5 separate regions of the Homo sapiens genome follow, and all the other regions are linked to region 1. Evidence: promoter capture Hi-C in 16 types of primary human blood cells and fetal thymus (Javierre and others, 2016). All regions are on one chromosome and are shown on one strand. Each heading gives the region's core, a stretch centred on a gene start or on the middle of the fragment in contact. The rest is flanking DNA. Distances are from core to core; before and after follow the strand shown.

Evidence for each region. The method cuts DNA at HindIII sites, captures the fragments that hold promoters and counts their contacts. A CHiCAGO score of 5 or more calls a contact.
Region 2: a contact is called between a fragment that was not itself captured here and the fragment with the promoter of USH1C in region 1, in 3 of 17 cell types (naive CD4 T cells, naive CD8 T cells and activated CD4 T cells). The highest score is 5.6, in naive CD4 T cells.
Region 3: a fragment that was not itself captured here is called in contact with the fragment with the promoter of USH1C in region 1 in 2 of 17 cell types (naive CD8 T cells and total CD8 T cells); the score reaches 6.5 in naive CD8 T cells.
Region 4: a contact is called between a fragment that was not itself captured here and the fragment with the promoter of USH1C in region 1, in 4 of 17 cell types (naive CD8 T cells, total CD8 T cells, activated CD4 T cells and 1 more). The highest score is 6.4, in naive CD8 T cells.
Region 5: a fragment that was not itself captured here is called in contact with the fragment with the promoter of USH1C in region 1 in 1 of 17 cell types (M0 macrophages); the score reaches 5.4 in M0 macrophages.

Annotation. Positions count from the first base shown.
Region 1 is chr11:17,543,131-17,545,720 of GRCh38, forward strand. USH1C (USH1 protein network component harmonin) reads right to left here and starts at 1,286. Exons shown (of 27, transcript NM_153676.4): 1 at 1,142-1,286. The coding sequence starts at 1,177. The HindIII fragment of the contact is 3,207 bases long and covers 1-2,590 here.
Region 2 is chr11:16,784,588-16,787,177 of GRCh38, forward strand. PLEKHA7 (pleckstrin homology domain containing A7) reads right to left here. Exons shown (of 27, transcript NM_001329630.2): 24 at 1,642-1,800. Among named protein-coding and RNA genes, the nearest start is that of C11orf58, 47 kb to the left of the region's middle. The HindIII fragment of the contact is 2,382 bases long and covers 116-2,497 here.
Region 3 is chr11:16,801,683-16,804,272 of GRCh38, forward strand. It overlaps PLEKHA7 (pleckstrin homology domain containing A7), which reads right to left. Exons shown (of 27, transcript NM_001329630.2): 14 at 1,545-1,613; 15 at 1,290-1,370; 16 at 1-135. Among named protein-coding and RNA genes, the nearest start is that of C11orf58, 64 kb to the left of the region's middle. RefSeq lists an enhancer at 468-1,667. The HindIII fragment of the contact is 4,430 bases long and covers 1-2,590 here.
Region 4 is chr11:16,828,431-16,831,020 of GRCh38, forward strand. All of the region lies in intron 9 of PLEKHA7 (pleckstrin homology domain containing A7), which reads right to left. Among named protein-coding and RNA genes, the nearest start is that of C11orf58, 91 kb to the left of the region's middle. The HindIII fragment of the contact is 2,303 bases long and covers 151-2,453 here.
Region 5 is chr11:16,952,963-16,955,552 of GRCh38, forward strand. The region is part of intron 3 of PLEKHA7 (pleckstrin homology domain containing A7); the gene reads right to left. Among named protein-coding and RNA genes, the nearest start is that of SNORD147, 28 kb to the left of the region's middle. The HindIII fragment of the contact is 2,712 bases long and covers 1-2,590 here.

The DNA.
Region 1 (2,590 bases), core at 36-2,535:
TAAATGAATAACTGACCCCGGGCCCTTGGCCCCAAGCCCCTGTGGCCCCTACACTGGCTAGCTCCTTGGGCTCCTATGGGCCTCTTTATGGGAAGGAAGGAGTTAAGCACCCTGACCTGCCCTACCTGAGCTCAGCTCTCAAACCAGGAAGAGGTTTGGCTTGGTCTAAAGACACTGCCCCTGGGGTCTTTGGGAGAGCCTTGGGTCACACAGTTATCAATAGTTAAGTTATCAATAGTTACCTGCCCCTCAGGCAGGGCCTGTGGGGAGCTCCAGATACCACCCACCCCCCCCAAGCGGCTTCATCCCCAGACTCAGAGGCATCCTAAGACTTGGTGGGGAAGTAGGCTGGATCTCTTTGATGGCCCTCTCTGGTCTCAGGGCCTCAGCAGATTCTGCACAGCTTTGTGAATCATTCTCGAAATGCCCTGTGTGAAACCTGGCCACTTCCAGAGATGGTCCTTGAGAATCCCAGACCACCAGTGAGGCCCCTCACTGGGACACACCAGGGTGGACCCGGCTCTGCCTGAAGGATCTGGCCGGCCAGAGCCCAGCTCCGACGCCCTCAGTACCTCCTCCCTTCCTCCCCACCGCACCCGGGTCAGCACCAGCTCCTCAGCTACTTCTCAGACCCTAAGAAACGCCCTTAGGCAGGCAGGGCTGAAATGCTTCTAACTCATGTTCTGAGGTCAAAAGGCAGAGAGAGAGACGTCTAGTTTCCCTTCTCCCAACCCTCACCTCTCAGATACTGCCCCAGACTGTCTCCACATGCCTCAACAGCCCTGAGCTGGGGGCACTAGGAAGGAGAGGGGCTTGCCCACAAAGGGGGCACCTCAGAAAAGCGGCCAAGACTGGAAGGAATTCAAACCCCAGAGACGTCCCTGCCCCTGGAAGGCAGAGGGAGAAAGGCTGGCAGAAGATCGACTCGTTTAGCAGTCCTTGAGCCGGGAGTCCCCGCATTCCCTCCCTCACTTTACTGGGGATCCCTGCTGCCAGCCAGACGACCCTCGGGTGTCCCAGCCCAACCAGAGCCATCAGGTGGGGCCGGAAAAGGGAGGGGCAGTGCCGGGGTGTCCACCCCCTACCCACCGCGCCCAGGACTCCGGAGTCCCAGAAGCCTGGGGCGCCCTGCAGCTCTGACCTTATGCCGGAATTCTCGGGCCACTTTTCGGTCCATGGCTGGGCCAGGTCCAGCTGCGTCGTTGCACGACCCGTTCCTTCGGGTGCCCGGCTGCCAGGAGCTGGAAAGAGCCGCGACCGCGACCGGGCCAGCCGCCCTCGGAGCTGGGGGCGGGGCCTGAGCGCGGAGGGGCGGGGCCAGGCCTCTGTGGGGCGGGGCCGCTGCGAGGCTGGAGTCGAAGGTGCTGAGTCGTCGCCTCCCACTGAAGCCTGGGAGCAAATGGGCCCCAGTGTGCCTATGGGCCTGAGGTGGCAGTAGCTGGGCTTCAAGCTGGTATTTCTCTGGAAGTGGTACCTGAACACATGCGTTTGAGGAAGAAGATCGTGGAGACGTAGGGAGGAGGTTTGGGACTTTTTTGTGGGGACCGGAATAGAGAGATACGGAAACTATTTACACGGGCGGGGGGCGGGGCAATCTAGTCCGTTTTCTCTGGATATTCTTTTTTTTTCCCCCCCGAGACGGAGTCTCGCTCTGTCGCCCAGGCTACAGTGCAGTGGCATGATCTTGGCTCACTGCAAGCTCCGCCTCCCGGGTTCACGCCATTCTCCTGCCTCAGCCTCCCGAGTAGCTGGGACTACAGGCGCCCGCCACCACGCCCGGCTAATTTTTTTTTTTTGTATTTTTAGTAGAGACGGGGTTTCACCGTGTTCGCCAGGAAGGTCTCGATCTCCTGACCTCGTGATCTGCCCACCTCGGCCTCCCAAAGTGCTGGGATTACAGGCGCGGGCCACCGCGCCCGGCCTTCTCTGGATACTCTTGTCGAGGTTCATGGCCCTCCTGGACTGTCAGCCCTTGCTACGCCCTCACCTCCAGCGTACCTTCAGTCCTGGCTTCCTCCTGCACTTTTCCACCAGGGAGAAATCAATCCTTGTTCTGTGAATTCCTTGGGGACAGGGCTGGGTTTTACTGTGGGCCGCAGGGGTCTGAATCAGTGTGTGTGAGAGTGCCCCCCTCAACTGATTTCCCCTCCCACCTTCCCTAACACCTCCACCCCCAACAAAACAAGACAAAACAAAACCCAAACCCAACACACTCACATATCCATCGAAGCCTGGCAGAGCCTGGCAGTGACATTTTGATCTATGGCTGACCTTCACCCAGGGCCCAGACCCTCTGGTTCATTTAATTCAATTTGGTCAGCATTTGCTTAACTCCTAGGTCTAGTGCTTGGTGCAAAGACAATGATGAACCAGGCCTGGAAAGGAATGAAAGGAAAGATTCATCAAAGACAATGATGAACCAGGCCTGGAAAGAGATGAAAGGAAAGAGGGGCTAGGAGAGGGGTGATAAAAATGTGTAAATCAGAGGCTAAGTATGGGGCTTGTGCCTGAACTTAACCCAGGGAGGCACCTGAGCCCTTTGTGCCCTGTCAAGGGCAGGGGCAAGGAGATGGACAGCAGCTTACATCAG
Region 2 (2,590 bases), core at 57-2,556, 760 kb before region 1:
GAAACCTTGCTTGGACTAAGAACACGAAAGGAAGCTTCTGCATGCTCCAGGAACTTTTTCCTCCCTGAATTACAAAAGCACACTAAAATGGGGTGGGTTGAAGCTCCTAAAAACAAGCTTAATCCAATCCCAGGGCAAATCAGGTCATGGATTTAAACCCACACGCAGCCCTTTCACTCTGTTGGAGATGGCAAGAAATAAGCTCTTCTCTGTTACTCCAATGAGGACAGATTTAGAGGAAGGAAGCAGATTACATTGTAGCAGGAGGAATTTAGGTTAGAGATAAGGAAGAACTTTTTCCCTGGGCTGGCAGGCAATCAGGACACTACAGAACACACTTCCCCTGCCAAGGCAGCATGTTGGGGCTTCTTTTGTGAATCTGAGAACGCACAGACCTTTGGCTGTTTCAGATGGCAAAGGAACAAGGTCTTGGGGCAGGGGACCAGCCTTGTTAACTCCTAGAGCCCCAGCAGACCCCAAAACTCAACAACTGTACAGGCATCTATCTTATCCACACACTGTTCCTTTGTTCCCAAAGACCAGAGGAACCCCTAACATACTGAGTCAGGTAGATACCATTGGCAAATCAGCTTGTGAATGGGCCTGGCACCACCTCTTAAGACAGCAGGAAGGCTCTGGAAGACACAGGTCCTCCTCAGTTCTCACTCTCCTATCACACAGACCTGGGGGAAAGTTTTATTGAGGTCTCGCCTCGATCCATCCTTCATGTGGTGAGAACATTTCCTCTTGTGCAGTTTCCAGGCAGGCCAAGTCCTTGTACAAATGCTTTTGGTACATTTATGGGTCACTGTGTGATTCATTCAACACAGTCAAAGATGCAGCAAAGATGTACCACGTACCCACTGTGTGCCAGGCCCTGTGCCAGGGACTAGGGATACAAAGGTGAACCAAGCAGCCATAGACGCTGCCCTGAAGAGCTTAGGAATAGCATCGACATAGGCCACAGGAGACAATCTACGTCTTGAAGACACTGAGTGTGTCATCCCGAGTTCCCTTTCTCTCCCCTTGGGTAGAGACATTTCCTGATGGGTAGAGATCCAGGAGTTACTTGCTCTCCTGGGCCTGCCCTGTCATGATGCATGTGAGCCACCAGAGGGCACCAGAAGAATTCAGACCAGAACTCTGCACTGTCTCCTAGCTTCTACCATGGCTGGAAATTTCGCCTGTGATTTTCAAACCTGCCCCCCATTTTCCCCTAGTCAGACTGCCCAAGTTGGCCTCACCAGCCAGTTGAAAAGCCAACCCCTGGTGTTGCAGGGAACATTTCCTAACAATAACAACTGCTGCTCACGTGCCTACTATGTGGCTTTGATCGCTAAACCTCCCAAGAACATGTGCAGTTACTTAATCCTCTTCACAACCCACTTCACTGTTGAGGAAACTGAAGCACAGAGAAGCTAAAATTGCAATTTGCCCTAAATTACAGAGAGTTTTGAACCTTCATCGAAACATCTGGCCTCCTTTCATTGCCTTAAGCTGCTATCCATCCATCCTCCTAGGCCACACTGAAGCTGAGCCATGTCCCTGTTCAGGATGATACCCCACAGTGGGAAGGTGGATCAGGCTGGGAACTTGAAGGCCATGTCTCCTGGAGGACATGAAGGAAGTGCCTGCCCTCACCTCTCTGCTGATGTCCAAGTCATAGTCTTGAGGCTCCAGGTCCAACTCAGTGACAGGCATGGCCTGCACTTTCAACCAGCCATTCTCCTCCTTGTCCTTTTTTTCCCCTTGCACGACCCGTTCCAGCAACTGCAGGTCAAAGTCCTGCTCACGCTTCCACTGGCAACAGAACAAGAGGTTAAACGTAGTCGCTTCCTGATTGCTGAAAGAGCCCGGCTGGTCACCTTTTTCCATGGGGTCCTTTGGAAGATGAACCTGTGATCCCCTTAGGGAAAAGCTGTATGTGCAATAGAGAATGAAGCTGCTGTCCCCTTCATATGGGCTGTTCCAGACTGCTAAGTGCTCTCTGATCTGGGTTCCCAGAGGTTTCAAACATACACCCTTGGGGCACAGGTCTAAGACTCATGACTTCAGGCTCACAGTGGTCCCCAGGGAAATAGAAGGCTCCCAGAGAGGGTGACCTCCAAACAACTTGGGACAGAGTTCTAGAGAAGGGATTTGTCCCTTCCACTCTCTACAGCTGGTTCAGGAGACATACGTCCCAGGCTCAGAATTAATGGAAAAACACGCCCTTCAAGGCCCTGCTAAGCAAGAAGAATAACCAAGGATCTTTCTATTGGGAATTTTCAACAAGATAACATTCGTAGGTGGGGGATCTCGCACTTACAGTAGGGCTGGGGAGGTACAAGCAAAAGCAGCTTGGAGCCAATGAGGCAGAAAAACTGCTGTATGAGACCCATCTATTTGAGATAGATGTTTTCTTTAAATTAGAAAAAAAAACTAAATCATATAAAATTGAAATGCTAAATCAAATGGAATGTTTCTAAGGCTGTTTCACAGTATCAACTTTGTAACAAGCTTCCCAAGAGGGAAAATCTAACCGATAAGATCCAACCATGACTGTCCAGCTCCGTGGTGACTTCCTGTTGACCCAGGACCTGCATCCTCA
Region 3 (2,590 bases), core at 52-2,551, 740 kb before region 1:
GAGCTCAGCTCGGATATGGACAAGGTCCTCCTGCAGCAACTTCTGCTGGTAGGCAATCTTCTCCAAGTGCTGGGGCTGGTCTCGGTACTGCTCCATCTGTCTGTGCAACACCTCCAGCACAGATTCTAGCTGGTCCTGCACCACGAAGGGCCAAAAAACAGCAGGATAGGAGGACAGTCCCCAGAGGCCTCCCCATACCACACCAGGAACCAAAGCTACTGGACCTAACCAAGGCCGAAGGGATCAGCGCTGAGATGTGGGCCCACAGTCGGGGCTCTGATGCCAGCTCTGACTCTGTCTAGGGAGTAGGCTGGGGAAAGTACCTAACAGCTCTGTGCCTCAATTTTGTCATCTATAAACTAGGGATACAGCTGTCTAACTCCTTATGGGATAAACTAAGAGAATAAACTAAGCTAAGAGGATAAATCAAAGAATTAAAAAAACAAAAAACAAAAACCTCTTTAGCCTCCTAGGGAAAAGAGTATATTGTCAACCTCCAGCATCACGAATTTAAAATGCAAAAGGAAAAAAATACTTTAAGAATAGAAAAGGCCAAATGTTGGTGGCCCCTGGCCCATTCCGGCACTCCCATCCAGACTTGCTGCCTCCATAGCCCAGATCCTAGGAGACAAGGAGCTTTAGGAAGCAAAGGCCTCTGCCCTGTAATGACTACAGCCACTTCCTCCAAAGGAACCCTGCTTCCCTGGGGTTCAGGGACCTGGGGTCATCACATATAAGCCAGTGGAGCTCCTCTCCCAGGCTCACCTCACAGGGCCTCCACGGAGAGGTAAGCCAAAGCAGAATGGGGGCAGGAGGGTCTCTATAAGATAGAAACCCCTAAGAAACACCATTTAAACACAAAGGCTTTTTTTTTTTTCCTCCTGAGACGAAGTCTTCCTCTGTTGCCTAGGCTGGAATACAGTGGCGTGATCTCGGCTCACTGCAACCTCTGCCTCCCGGGTTCAAGCAATTCTTCTGCCTCAGCCTCCTGAGTAGCTGGGATTACAGGTGCCCACCACCATGCCCAGCTAATTTTTGTATTTTTAGTGGAGACAGGGTTTCACCATGTTGGTCAGGCTGGTCTCGAACTCCTGACCTCATGATCCACCTGCCTTGGCCTTCCAAAGTGCTGAGATTACAGGCATGAGCCACCGCACCTGGTGCATTTTTTTTTAAATAAGCTAACATCTGCTCTTCAATACTAACATGAGGGTCCAGCCTATGTCTCAAGAAAGACAGGACAAAATGTCCCTCTGCCCATTCCAAGATTATTCAAAACTGACACGTACTTTGTTCTCTTTAAGGGCTCGTATCTTGTCTTCCAAGTCCTGGAGGACCCTGTCTTGTTCACAGAAGATGCTCAGTTTGACCTAAAAGCAAGAACAGGTGGAGAGGGCCTGGGGTGATGAGAAAAGGACATGACCTTGGGATTGCAATCAGACAGCCTTTGGCTACAGAACCATCCAAGCCCTGCCTGAAGCTGTTCACCCGGGGTCTGGGTCAGGAGGCAGCTGAGGGGTCAGCGTGTCACTCTGCTCACTCACGTCAGTGTCGCTCTCAGCGATCTTCACAGGCTTCAGACTTCGATCCTTGAGAAGGTCCCGGCCTGTCATCTGGGAGGCGAACAATTTAAAAGAGATTTAACCATGGTGTTTGAGATCAGAACTCAGGAAAGAAAATTCATCCTATAATGGATGGTGTGGAAGTCCTTGGCAGTGGCAGGTAGGGTCATAGTATGAGAGGGACAAAAACTTGGGCCATACTTCGCTATTTCTATGCCTATTTCATTTTAGGAAAAAACCAAAACCTTTTGATGATTCTAGTAATGCTGGTAAGTCCTTTGAGTTAAAGAAAATGTAGATGTTCAAGTTAAAGGATCATCAATTTTAAAAGTATATATTTGCCTAAAATGAATGTGAAAAATCAGCATGAATCTTGGAAGATTTGCCACCGATAAGACAGAGGTGTACTACTGAACGTGGGAACAAACACAAGTTACGAAGCCCATCACCCCCTGCCCAGGGTGGTGAGATGGGCAGACCCAGAGGAACAAACAAATCCCTTGACCATTGTCAAGCCTTAGTTTAATGAAGTCTCTGAGCAGCCCACTTCCCCGTGGGTAAGGCCAGCCTTCCTTACCCTTTACCATTTGGGAAGAAGACCTGGCCAAGGTAAAAAGGAACCTGGCTAGTTCCCAGCAAGGGTTTTTAATTGTTCCCTGAATAACTGAGGCTAGGCTGTACTTGTGTAAGTTACAAGAAAGGAAACCATAAAGCAATATACAAAAGTCACCCAAACTTGCGGGCCAATGGGATTTTACATTTCCCATCCCTCACTTGACTCAAAGTAGGCAATATGCTGCCTGTCTCTCACTGACTCCTGAGAATCTAAATCTTACTTATCCCATTTTTCCATTTCCCCCAATTTCTTTCTTGCCAAAAGTCATGCAGGGGCTGAGGGGAGTGACTTTCACAGATGCACCCTCCCATGGCCAAGATAAGGCCAGGGAGAACCAAGTCTATTTTGCCTAATGTAGGGGAAACCACCTCACTGAGCTCTATTTTGCAGATCTGACCAGGAAAATGGAGGG
Region 4 (2,590 bases), core at 52-2,551, 710 kb before region 1:
AGTCAATTAAACCTCTTTCCTTTATAAATTACCCATTCTCAGGCAGTTCTTTATAGCAGTGTGAGAATGGACTAATATACAGAGAGAACTGAGAAAAGCAAGCATTCTTCTCGCTGTTCACGTACCAATGTCTTTTCCATGGAAACCCCAAGCTTTGTGGAAAAAAATAATGCATCTTTGGAACTCCTTTTATCCAACAGAGGACATCTTTCCTCTCCAACCCCCACACTGTATCCACTGCCCTTCTGATAACAGCATTTCAATTTTCATTTGGGAATCACTTTCTCCTACCCTCAGTCCAGGTGGTTCAGGTGCTGCTGACTCCCTGTCCAGCTGAGGCTCCACAGTCTCAGTGACTGGTTCAGGAGTTGACTACTCCAGGCCAATCAGAGTTAGCCCTGGGACTTGGGTTGGAGCTGCTGCAACTATGTGGGAAGGCACTACTTGAGAATGAAGTTAACACAAAGGAAAGCAGATGGAGAAACATAGAATCCTAAAAACTTGGCTTAAGCTCCTACATCTAACCATATGTAAACCAGATATCTCTTTGGATTTTCTGGTTGTGAATAAATAAATTCCTTCTTTTTTTTTTCACAGCGTCTTGCTCTCTCACCCAGGCTGGAGTGCGGTGGCAATGATCACGGCTCACTGCAGCCTTGATCTGCTGGGCTCAAGTGATCCTCCCACCTCAGCCTCCTGAGTAGCTGGGACTACAGGTGCATGCATGTTTTAATTAGCTCTGCTAATTAAAAAAAAAAAAAATCTGTAGAGACTGGGTCTTGCTATGTTGCCCAGGCTGGTCTCAAACTCCTGGGTTCAAGTGATCCACCTGCCTCAGCCCCCCAAAGTTTTATGATTACAAGCGTGAGCCACCCTGCCGGGGGCCTAAATTCCCTTTTTCAGTTGTTAGAGTTTGGTTTCTGCTACTTATACTGAAAGGGGTCCTGCCTATTAATCATTTCACAATGACATATTGAGATAGTAATGAGTGAGGGCCCATTCATTGTTAACATTCAGTGGCTCTATAAATTCCAGTAGGAGGAAAATACGGGAAATATTCAGGAGCCCATACTTACAGAAAAAGTAATTCAGCCGGGTGCAGTGGCGTGCCAAGGGAGGTGAATCACCTGAGGTCAGGGGTTCAAGACCAGCCCGACCAACATGGTGAAACCCCATCTCTACTAAAAATACAAAAATTAGCTGGGCATGGTGGTGTGCACCTGTAGCCCCAGCTACTCAGGAGGCTGAGGCAGGAGAATCGCTTGAACCTGGGAGGCACAGGTTGCAGTAGCTGAGATTGCACCACTGTGCTCCAGCCTGGGCAACAGAGCAAGACTCCGCCTCAAAAAAGAAAAAGTAATTCTTACCGTAAGTTTATAAAGGGACAACTCTGTTCCACAATGTACATATGACAGGTTTCTTTTTTCTTTTTTCTTTTTTTCACACGATAGGTTTTAGCTTTGTCTTTCCTTTCTCCCTTTAAGCCTCCATAACTAGATTAGTGTAAACTGAACCAACAGTCCTCAAGTTGCCTAAGTTGGCCATTCTTTTTTTTTTTCTTTTTCTGATACAGGGTCCCACTCCGTCACCAAGGCTGGAATGCACTAGCGTGAACAGAGCTCACCGCAGCCTCAACCTCCTGGGATCAAGTGATCCTTCCACTTCTGACTCCTGTGTAACTGGTACCACAGGCGCCTGCCACCATGTCTGGCTAATTTTTAATTTTTTTTTTTTGTAGAGACAAGGTCTTTCTTTGTTGCCCAGGCTAGTCTTGAAATCCTGAGCTCAAGCAATCCTCCCACCTCAGCTTCCAGAAGTGCTGGGATTACAGGCACCAACCACTGTGCCAGGCCTATTTTCTTTATTATTTCTCACATCCAGGAAACTACCCATAGAGGATGTGCTGAGGCTACTTCGGAGATGATGAAGGCTCCAGCTGCCCTCTGGATCACACCCTGGCCAAGTCGCTGAAGATTTAGAATCTTGCATGCTGCTTTGGTTTCACTTGCTCTGATATTTCTAAGTGGTTACTCCAATTGTGATACCCAGGTAATTGTATCTCCTTGTTATTCACACTCCAAAGATAAAGAGCACCTTGTCATAAAAGCCAGACAGTGAAACAAATATGCCACCTATGTGTATGACATTAGAATTGAGAGGAAATGAAGGATTCTTCAACTCTGGGACCCAAAGATTGTGGGCACAATGTCTCAGTCCAACCAATTGTAATGTGGATTTTTCTTCCTTCCCTAACCATTCACCATGTATTTACCAAGCACCTATACAGCCCCCACTGGGACAGGCACCTGGGACTATAAGAGAGTAGCAAAGAAAATAGCCTTTGCCTTCAAAGTCAGACAACCCTGGAGCCCAACTTAATTATGGTAACCACATTGAATACTGTTCCCATAAACACCTGACCCTCAAATCATGGAGTCTGTTAGTCTTCCCTAAGCTTGGAGCTAATTTAACCATAATTCTTAGTCCTTACTATGTATGTACATGAGTATATACACTTCCATATATGCCAGTGCTTCCTGGAAATAAATTTGACAGAGGATGATAAATCATTTTCTTTAAATTAATACCA
Region 5 (2,590 bases), core at 41-2,540, 590 kb before region 1:
ATATTTGAAAATAGTATTTTTTTGACAACTGACACTACAATAATTCTGAGGTTCCCCACCAAGGGGTCAGCCCAAGATTTGGGGAACCCTTGCCCTAAATGACACAGGGAGGTCAAAGAAAAGTTTCATGGAGGCAGTGAAGTTTGAGCTATGCCTTAAAGGCTAAGGATTAAGTTGCCAGATGCACAGGAAGGGACAATGAAAGGACACTGTAGACACAGGAAACAGCAAAGGTAAAGGCATGGTGAGGATACTATTAGTTCCTATTGGATTACAATCTCAGAGACCAGTCTTAAACCTTGGTCTTTTTCACAGTAATCAGCAAAATGCCTTGTACTGATTAACCAAACGAACATAAGAAATTTTAAATGAGTATGAAGAATCCAAAGAAAGTTATAAGAAAGTTCTTTTGTGAATCCTACAGTGACTATAATCTGTAAGACTTAAAGTCCTAAGATCTTGTGCCAAAAGAAAATGAACACAATAAGAACAATTTTGTACACTATTTCCAATTTAAAAGATTAAATAAGCTAAACCAAATGATAAGGACCGGGGCTTTCCAGAATAGTAATAAAACCAAGATTCTGGATCACATGCTTGACAGGTAGATTTCATTTTATGCTCTACATATTTTTTTGCACTGAAATACACAGAAAAACTTACACAAAGTTTATATTAGAGCCCTTTATTTATTAATTCTTAATATTTGAATAAATAATTCTGTATTTAAGGGCACCACTTTCACTGCCTCCTAAAGGTAAGTATACTTGGTTGACTGGAAAGGGCAGTGTTTTTCTAGTTTGTGTTTATTTTTCTGTTCAAACATATGAAAAGTCTATTCTTCACTGTGCAGGAAAATGCAAAGCAGATTTAGAGGGTGCTTATGGGTTTCTTTCACCTCTCCCTTAAGAAACTGGTAAGACAGGAATGTGACAAATGGCACAAGGTTTATAAAACAATAATTTGCCCTTTATCATGATTAGAAAGTTGGCTGACTGAACAGAAACTTATATAAAGTTCAGAAACAGACCCCTCACACACACAGGAAGCTACAATTAGTTGGGGAGTCATATGGAAATTTCAGGGCTTCACTGGTTGAGAAGCAAACAATGCAAAGATAGAGGACACTCCACAAGGCAAGAGGGATTTGTAGGGTTTCTGGCCTTACATATTTTGTTAAACAATAGCCAAAAAATAAGATAAAATAAAAATATCACTATAAATGTTTTCTTATCCAGCACTATTGGAGCAAACAATAAAGAACCAATAATGGCCAGGCACAGTGGCTCACACCTGTAATCTCAGCACTTTGGGAGGCTGAGGCAGGAGGACTACTTGAGGCCAAGAGTTCAAGACCAGCCCTGGCAACACTGTGAGACTCCATCTCTACAAAAACAACAACAACAACAACAAAAATTTAAATTAGCCATGTGTGGTAGTGCACACCTATAGTCTCAGTTACTCAGGAGGTTGAGACAGGAGGACTGCTTGAGCCCAGGAGTTCAAGGTTATAGTGATCTATGATCACACCAACACACTCCAGCCCGGGCAACAGAGCAAGACTCTGTCTTTAAAAAAAAAAAAACAAAAACTAATAAGATAGGATGCTGGATGCTGTTAGTTATTTGAAAGGTCACAGAAATTATTCAAATAAATTTCTTTGGAAGATAGCAAAATAAAACAACAAGAAAGTTAAATATTAACGACATACTTTACAGTTGTCTCATGTTTTCTTTTTTTTTTTTTGAGACAGAGTCTCGCTCTGTCACCCAGGCTGGAGTGCAATGGCGCAATCTCGGCTCACTGCAACCTCCGCCTCCCAGGTTCAAGCAATTCTCCTGCTTCAGCCTCCGGAGTAGCTGGGATTGCAGGCACCCGCCACCACACCCGGCTAATTTTTTGTATTTTTATTAGAGACGGGGTTTCACTATGTTGGCCAGGCTGGTCTCAAACTCCTGACCTCGTGATCCGCCCGCCTCAGCCTCCCAAAGTGCTGGGATTACAGGCATGAGCCACCATGCCTGGCCTCATGCTTTATTTTCACATATACTGTTTCATTTGAAACAGTTTTTGCAAATGTCAGAGTAATTTTTAATTCCCTTATCAGATGGATTTTTTATTTACTCAAATAATTCCCAAACAACTGTTGAACGCAAAGCACTATGCTAGGCGCCCTAGAGAATACAAAGAAGAAAACTGAAACCCCCAATGAACCCTGATGCTTAGGCTGCAGCAGGCTAACAGGAGAGACTTGCTGAATGAATGAATGGTTTTTCCTGGAGTATTCCTCTGCTACCCATCAACATGGCAACTTCCTACTTATCCTTCAAGGCCCAGTTCAAATATTGCTTCCTATTGAGCATTCCCTTTTCTGTATCCCATGGAATAAACTGCCCCTGTGTCCCTAAAGTGTTCTATACAAATACTCATGAAGATACTTGTTGCCTTATGGTTGTTTACTTACCTGTTTGTCCCACTGAACTGGGCTTAAAGGACCATGACCTACTCATTTTTTATTCCCCAGCATTTAGTATAGTGCCTGGCACCCAGTAGAGGTTCAGTTAGGTGTTTGCGTTAATCAAATAAGTCC